Regions from separate parts of the Homo sapiens genome. Here region 2 is linked to region 1. The links are contacts of gene promoters, found by promoter capture Hi-C in blood cells and fetal thymus (Javierre and others, 2016). All regions are on one chromosome and are shown on one strand. Each heading gives the region's core, a stretch centred on a gene start or on the middle of the fragment in contact. The rest is flanking DNA. Distances are from core to core; before and after follow the strand shown.

What was found. Contacts are between HindIII fragments. The CHiCAGO score rates a contact against its expected background, and 5 or more counts as called.
Region 2: a fragment that was not itself captured here is called in contact with the fragment with the promoter of C1QL2 in region 1 in 1 of 17 cell types (total CD4 T cells); the score reaches 5.9 in total CD4 T cells.

The regions. Positions count from the first base shown.
Region 1 is chr2:119,157,001-119,161,319 of GRCh38, reverse strand. C1QL2 (complement C1q like 2) reads left to right here and starts at 2,569. Exons shown (of 2, transcript NM_182528.4): 1 at 2,569-3,734. The coding sequence starts at 3,051. RefSeq lists an enhancer at 3,391-4,201. The HindIII fragment of the contact is 3,837 bases long and covers 290-4,126 here.
Region 2 is chr2:118,225,751-118,230,069 of GRCh38, reverse strand. LOC105373578 (a long non-coding RNA gene) reads left to right here and starts at 3,482. Exons shown (of 5, transcript XR_923249.3): 1 at 3,482-4,319. The HindIII fragment of the contact is 1,570 bases long and covers 1,008-2,577 here.

The DNA.
Region 1 (4,319 bases), core at 1,320-3,819:
GAAAATGTTTGTCCAGGTGGAACTGGTGACTGGGAACAAACACTCTGGGTAGTTTTGAAAGACAAAAAGACAGAGCAGGGCAGGCTTGGGGAATGTGGGAGGCATGGGACATCCCCCTTCTGCGCTCTGGAGAAGGACAAAGGATGTGAATTATCTTTGAGCTTCTCTTTTTTTAAAACCCTAACCCTCCCCATGCCACCCTGCATATTGCCTTCATGTCGCATCCTAGTGGTCATAACCATGGCAGGGGAGGTTGAAAGCATCAATAGCTAATAAAAATAGCTAAGCTTCTACTGAGCTAGCTATTGTTCTAAAGCCTTTACATTAATTGGCTCGTTCAGTCTTCTCAATAACTTAGAGGTAGGTTCTTTTTCCATTCCCATTCTACACATGGAGATCCGAGCTCAGAGAGATGAAGCAACTTGCTCAAGGTCACACAGACAGGAAGTCTCAGACCCAGGATTGGAAGTAGGCCATGTGGCTCCTGAAATCACGTGCTCTTGGGATGACTCTGAGGCAGAGAGTGGAGAAAGACTCCCAAGTCTGAGGAAACCAGTGAAGACTGTGGCCAAGAAGTAGCTGTTGAAGCTGTGTTCACTGACAGGTTCAGATAGCCCCTGATCTGGGTGCCGGGAGGATCCTGGCTCTGTCATGTGGGTAAAATGCACTTGGCAAACACCCTACACTTGCAAAACCTTTTTTTTTTCCTCATTGGTGCGGTGGGAAAATGATCACTAATCCACAGTAACATGAGGAATGAATGAAGGAGCACGTGCAAAGTGCCTGATGCATACGTAGTAGGTGCCAATAAATGTGCTCCTTCTCTCCTTGGTAAAGTTGGCTTCCGGCTAGGCTCAGTCATCCTTTCCACAAATATATGTGGAGAGAACAGGCTAGAGCAACGAGGTTGGGAGTGGGGAAATGACCCAGGGTGATCAGAGGACAAAAATAGATTTTAATTAACCCGTAAGAACCTAGTGCAGGACAAATGAGAGTTAGCTTCAAAGCAATAGCCTTAGGTGGGTGCACTGTTGTTCCAGAGATGCTGATGCTACACCAAACACTGACACCAGCCCTTAGATTCTCCCCCCAGGACAGGCCTGGTGTGATTCCCATGTTGGGGGTGCTAGGGCAGGAGGCGGCCTTTTAAGGAAACTGAGTCTCAGGGACAGGAACCACCTGGCAAAATCACACAGCTACTCAGGGCAAGAGCAGAAGCTGGGGCTTTGATTTCTCCGCTGGAAGTCTCTCCCACACCGGCGGGCCTCTCATCCTTCCTTAGCCTCACATGCTACATTGGAGATAGACTATTCTGCTCTCATCTGAGGCCATGGTTTATTCAAGACTGGCTCAGAATGGCTTTGGACTATTTGGACTATTTTCTAAAATAACTAAACCCATCTCAGGAGGAGGAAGCTGGGGATGTCCAAGGGAATGTGCCCATGCATCTGCCTGGCAGTGGCCGGGCTTGGAGTAGAAGCTGAGTGCACCATGATCACTGCCAAGTGCCGGCATCAAGCATTTGGTTTCTACACCAGCTTCACGCAGAGGACAAGGGCCAGCCATTTTCTGGTGGAAGAAAAGGTCTGAGGCGAATATTCCTTTTTTTTTTTTTTTTTTTTGAGATGGACTTTTGCTTTTGTTGCCCAGGCTGGAGTGCAATGGCACGATCCCGCCTCACCGCAACCTCTGCCTCTCTGGTTCAAGCGACTCTCCTGCCTCAGCCTTCCGCGTAGCTGGGATTACGGGCATGCACCACCATGCCCAGTTAATTTTGTGTTTTTAGTACAGACGGGGTTTCATCATGTTGGTCAGGCTGGTCTCAAACTCCCAACCTCAGGTGATCTGCCCGCTTCGGCCTCCCAAAGTGTTGGGATCACAGGCGTGAGCCACTGCGCCCGGCCGCAAATATTCTTGTATTGGGAGCCTTGGGCTTTTTAGAGTCACCTCAGAGGTTAGTGGGGTGCTCTACGGGAGCCTGTTTAAGAGTCTGGAGTCCTTAGTCTAGGTTTGCGAAAGATCTTCCAGAAGCGAGATCTATTCAATTCTGAAGAAATAACTCAGGAGGTCTTTCAGAAACTCCTTCCCGCTGGACCTCACGGGACTCTCCTGGACTCGGTGGGTTGAGGTTTGATCCTCTTTGCAGGCCAGGGGATGGATTAGGTGACCCCAGAGGAGCCCTGCTGACACCTGGATTCCAGCTGCTTTCGTGGCCATGTGGGGGTGGCTGTGCGTGCCCCGCCACTGCGTGCGTGGGTGTCTGTGTGTGTTATCGGTGGGGGGCGCGTGAGTGTGGCCGCGGGTGGGTGTGTCCGATGTGCCCCGGCTTGGGACCGCGCCCGCTGCGCCCACTTGTGGCTCCTGGGAGCCGCCAGGGGGAACCGCGCCTTCACCGCCTCTGCCGAGGACGCCGCCAGATAGGAGGCTGATGACATGAGGGCTCCGTCTCCCGAGTGATGGCAGCGCGCGCTGCTTCGCCGCCTCCGCCGCTCAGCCCCGGACTCCTTACGTCAGGGTAGCGGGGTCCCCCCTCCGCGCGGGAGCCAGCGAACAGCGAGAGAGCACAGCAGAGCGCGCCGCGGAGCCGGGGCGCCCTCACTGCGCTAGGAGCCCCACTAAACCCAGCGGAGCGGAGCCTGGCGGGAGGCAGCGCCGCGGAGCCAGCGCCGGACGCCGCAAGCAGACTCCCCGGCCAGCGCAAGCACTCCCTGGCCGGCGCCGGACCCTCGGGGCGCCGGATTCGTCTTGTGTGCCCCACGTCATGCGCGCGGGCGTCCGCGGCTCTCCCGACCAGCCCCAGCGCGGTGGGCCCAGGCTCAGAGGTCCCGGCGCCTCTCGCTGAAGTAGTTGGGTAGCCGGGGCTGGGGGTCGCCACGTCGGGGGCGCGGCCAGGACCCGCGGAGCCGGTCCCCGAGCGCGGGGAGCGGGGCCGCCCGCGCCGCCCCACCATTACCTCCCCGGGCGGCAAGGAGGAGCTGGTGGCGGTCGCCTCCCGGCTGTGGCAGCGGCGGCGGCGTGCCTGCCTGGCGGCCGTCGGCGTACTCTTGGCCATGGCGCTCGGGCTGCTCATCGCCGTGCCGCTGCTGCTGCAGGCGGCGCCCCGAGGCGCCGCGCACTATGAGATGATGGGCACCTGCCGCATGATCTGCGACCCTTACACTGCCGCGCCCGGCGGGGAGCCCCCGGGTGCAAAGGCGCAGCCACCCGGACCCAGCACCGCCGCCCTGGAAGTCATGCAGGACCTCAGCGCCAACCCTCCTCCTCCTTTCATCCAGGGACCCAAGGGCGACCCGGGGCGACCGGGCAAGCCAGGGCCGCGGGGGCCCCCTGGAGAGCCGGGCCCGCCTGGACCCAGGGGCCCTCCGGGAGAGAAGGGCGACTCGGGGCGGCCCGGGCTGCCAGGGCTGCAACTGACGGCGGGCACGGCCAGCGGCGTCGGGGTGGTGGGCGGCGGGGCCGGGGTAGGTGGCGATTCCGAGGGTGAAGTGACCAGTGCGCTGAGCGCCACCTTCAGCGGCCCCAAGATCGCCTTCTATGTGGGTCTCAAGAGCCCCCACGAAGGCTATGAGGTGCTGAAGTTCGATGACGTGGTCACCAACCTCGGCAATCACTATGACCCCACCACGGGCAAGTTCAGCTGCCAGGTACGCGGCATCTACTTCTTCACCTACCACATCCTCATGCGCGGCGGCGACGGCACCAGCATGTGGGCGGACCTCTGCAAGAACGGGCAGGTCAGTGACCCCTACACTCACCGGCCCCCGTAAACCCTCGCCCGCGCCCTGAACCTCCCAGGGAACCAGCCTCCTTTCTCTCCACCCGCGGGCTACCCTGCGAGCCCCGGGAATGAACGCGCCTCGGTGCCACAGTATCTCCGCTTCCCGATGCGCCGAGGCCGCGCTCACCGGGACGTAGAGCCAAATGTTGGGCCTTGAGAGCCCAGAGACCCCCATACCTAAACTACACTCCTTGGCCACTTGCGTCCCTGCCTGCCTCTCCGTGGGCTTCTCGGAAACCTCAGTTCTTTAGTTCTCTCCAGGTCGCCCCCTTGCCCTGCAGCCTCCTTTCCTCTTGGCCCTGGCCCCTGGCTCCCACCCTTCCACTCTGGGTCAGTGTTCATGAAGCTTCCCCTCTCCCTATTTCCCAGACTCGTCGGCGCGAGGAGGAGGGGGGACCTGGAAGGAGTTGACTAAGTTGGAGAGAGAACATGGAGCTGGGGTGGGAGTGTGGACCCTGAAGCAGCAGGCGGGAGGCCCGTGAGTGGCGCGCCTGGTGTGGGCTGAGCAAAGGCGCGGGAAGAGGTGCCCCGGCTCACCTGC
Region 2 (4,319 bases), core at 543-3,042, 930 kb after region 1:
GTGTGCTCTTACATCCGGCCTTACAAATTGGACAATTTAATTTAAAATGGTGGACATGGGTAGAAAGGCCATGCTGAGTGGCGAAGATGGCATAAGCAAAGGTACATATGTAGGAAAATGCAACTTCAGCCGAAGTGTAGGTTCATAAAAACCCCAAGCTGCCCACTGCTCCAACCCCTAGGCTATGTGTAGCTATGTGTAGCTTCCAGTCCAGGCAGAGAAGCCACTGGTCTCAGCATCTCAGGGAAAGGGGTATGAGACCTATCCCCATCCAATACCATGATCAACAAACATCTATGAGTACCAGCAAGAAACAAGTAACTCCAGTGGACCTCAGCTAGCCTTAATTTTCCATCATCCATCCTCACTTCAATTTTCCCTTGGGAGTCATCATTTTTCCACATTCAGTCTAAGTAGTTTGGGTGGAGTTGACCCAAGGTAAGAACAAGATAAGAATCAAAGCACAACTCCCTCTGGCCACAGTGATGAGTTCAAGAATGGGCACAGGACCCAAAGGAGGCCACTGAGAGCCTTCCTGGGCCTTCTCATGGTTTTACAGAGAGACCACATGAGGAGGCCACCTAGAGAGACATGCCCAAGGGGTCCCAGCTGTCTGAGTCTTCCCAGCCCAGGCTCCAGACACATGAGTGAAGAAGCTTCCCAGATGACCTCAGCCCCAGAACCACCTGACTACAAGTGTCTGAGGAACCCTAAGCAAGAACTGCCTCACGGAGCCCAGTTGACCCTCGGATTCAAAAGCAGAATAAATGTGTGTTGCTTCAAGCCACTGTTTTGAGCCATTATTAGTATGCAATAATGGCCAGAACTGGGTCTGTTTGGCTTACCTATTAATTCCAGGGCTAAAATACCAGGAAACAAATCAAAGGCCAGGACAAAGACGCCACTGCACAAAGAACAAGTTCCCCAACTGTCTTTGCTTTGGACCAGCATGTTGGTTGTAGATTTTGTCAACAAGCTCTCACTGTGTAGCAGCCATCAAATAAGCTTTTCATGAGAATTAAGCCAAACAGTCCAGGCTGCAGTGGGAGCAGAATGAGCTTTCCATAAAGTTTGGTGGTCTCCATGATAACACAGGACACTGCTCGTTCACTGATGTTGTACTCGCTCAATTAGTTTCTTCATCTCAGATTGTAAAATCTGGATGGAAGGAGACATTTCTAATACTTCTTCAGGGTTCCAAAGCCTGTGGTAGACTGTAAGACACATACTGGGTGCTTGATAGACATTTGTCAACAGCTTGCCTGATTTAAATCTGGGCCTTATATTTCACATGGGGAGGCCATGGAAGCCCACAAAGCAAATGGAGGGTCACATTGGCCAACGGTTTTCTCTGATGGTACAGAGGTAAATGTCCACAAAAAATATTGGGTAGTAGAGGAAGACAGTTGACAACCCTTACATAACCTCCAAAGGTCTTAGAGAGCACAGAGTTGGAGTTGATAGACCAGGATTGAAATCCTGACTCAGCCATCAGGAAGCTGGAGGCATTCGGTGAGGCCCAGCCCCTACAAGTCTCAGCTTCCTTATCTGTAAAGTGGGAGTAACAGTACCTAGAAGATTGTGGTGATTAAGTGAGACATTCAATATAAGGCATATGTTGACATGTGGCAGGCACTCTGTAAATAGAAATCATCATTGTTATCATTAGCTGCACATTTGGGAATAAAACTCCTGGCTTACTTACTTTACATGGCAGTTTTGTGGATCAAGGGAGAATAGACAGAATGATGCTTTAAAAATATTAATAAAGTTCAATGTCAATAAAGTTATTAAAAACCAGAGTAAGGTCTAAATCATCTGACATAAATATCCCTTCTGTTTGCACATGCAAAGCAGAATGCAGAATGTGAGAAAAAAGAGTTGGGGAAAACCCAAAGCAAGAGGCACATCACTGATCCACTCACACAGAGCTGGAAAGAACCTTTAAAATCACCCAATTCACCTCGTTTTTCAGGAAGGGAACTAGGGCAGAGAGTGCCGCTGCATGGATGAGGCCACACAAGCTAGCAGGCAGGACCAGGAAGGGAACTCCCAACCCACATGCCCAGTCTGGTGCCCTTTTCACTATTTATCACCTTTCTGGCTTGCATTTGCTGTGTGATAATCTAGGTATCTGCCCATCAGAACATTCTTAAGCAGACACTGGATGCAACTGAAAAGTAAACAAATGCCAGATCAGTTTCATCGTTGGAACATTTCCTCACTTCCTGGCAGTTGCGGAGAAAATGCCTCTGGGGTATCTTTCTCTAATTTTCTTTCTCAATAATGGTATAAAAATGGTAACGAATGCTAAGGAGGAGTAATGTGTCTTGGGGAAAATTTAGCTTCTACAAGCTGGTTTTCCGTCCACCCTACAAAGTCACTGAGCTCTGGGATGCTGGCTTTCTAAGTCTGGCTGAAGCTCAACCATGAGGCCAAGTGCCCAGCTTTGACAAAGAAAGCTCTTCAACACTGGAAGAAAGATCGTCAATGTTGGTGTCTGAGTTTCTCTGTTATAATGAAGTGTTCAATGTTTTAAACACTGCTGCAATGAATGTAATGGTAGATTTAAAAGCTTTTTTTTTTTTTAAATTGAGATGGAGTCTTGCTCTGTTGCCCAGGCTGGTGTGCAGTGGTGCAATCTTGGCTCACTGTAACCTCCGTCTCCTGGGTTCAAGTGATTCTTCTGCCTCAGCCTCCCGAGTAGCTGGGACTGCAGGAACGTGCCACCACACCCGGCTAATTTTTTGTATTTTTTTTTTGGTAAAGATGAGGTTTCGCTGTGTTAGCCAGGATGATCTCAATCTCCTGACCTCGTGATCCACCTGCCTTGGCCTTCCAAAGTGCTAGGATTACAGGCATGAGCCACCGCGCCCAGCCTTAAATGCTATTTTAATTTCTTGCATATAACGAGGCTGTCTTTTATTCTCTGGTTACCCAGGTTTGAAAGCCCAGTCACCTCTGACCTGCCTCTCTGCTTTGAGCTCCATGTGCTTTGGCCATCAAATCTTACCAAATCATTCTTTCTCTCCATCCCCATAACACTGGCCTGTAGCAGCCCTCATTCCTTATGACCACCATAGCCTCCCACTGGGATCTCAGAATCCAGGCCTTCTGCCCAACCCCAAATCCTTCCTGGGCACAGCCCCTGATTCACCTTTTACAAATGCCCCCTAGGTCTGTCACTCTGGGGCTCCCCTCATCCACAGGCAAGTCTTAGCCTGCCTTTATCTCTCTCCTCTTTCATTCCTGCTCTATCTCCCTCCATCCTCTGAAACAAAAACTAATTTGTTGTTCCCTCCGGATTGCATGCTGTTCCCTGCATTTGAATGCCTTTCTCCCACCTCAACTCATCGAAATCTCAACCAATCTTCAACTCCTAGGCAAATGCTACTGCTTCTTTCATGAATTCTCTGCTCCTTACTCCAGCCAGACATCACGTGTCCTTGTTCCCTTGTCAGGCTTCCCTCCCATAACCTCAGATCAAGCCACCACATTGCTGTAACCATGCACTTCCTGGTATCTATGTCTTTGCTTGTCACAGTGCCCCTCCCAGAAGACATATTCTCTTAGGGCAAGGAAGATATTTCATTCTCTCCCCCCAGCAAAACAAAGCATTTTGTTTTCCACGTTCCATAAGCTTAATAATTATTTGTGAATTGAATGAAAAGAAAAAACATAATACAACTACTCACCTGTTTTGGGGGGCTTTTTTTGTTTTTAACGGAGTGCCTTCCAAGAGCTGAGGATTGGATTTATTAATTCTGATTTTTTACTGGATATCAATTTGAAAATCAAAGGCTGTCCCCATGCCTCAGTTTCCTCATCTGTGACCACAGGTCAAGAATAATTCTTCCTAACCTACTTTACCAGGCTACTTATTTTCACCTAAAAGGTGGCAATATTATGCTTGTTTTGTTTTGTATTGTGTTCTACTTTTAAGCAGGCTAAATAAACAGAGACCTGGAGGATTCTGTTTGGAAGAGAAAGACGATGGGCCCCTTACTTGGAGTTCATTGCCAACCCACAGAAGAGAGACGGGTTCTCTCACCAACCAGAAAAGAAACAGCTGTGGTGACAGATGTTGGTGGTGCTGATTATTCCAGGGCTGTTTGCATTCAGATTTCCCAGGCATTCTCGGTTTTCTGAAGTCAATCTCTTTTGATGGGTTTTCCCAGGTCTTGGGGGTGAAAACAAACCGCTCCTCTTGCCGCACGCATTTCATTTATTTCCTCTCTCTACTCCAGAAACACACAGATAAAGGACACCCACCCAGCACACGCACTCCCCACACCCACGTGGCCTCACGTTTCGTTTTG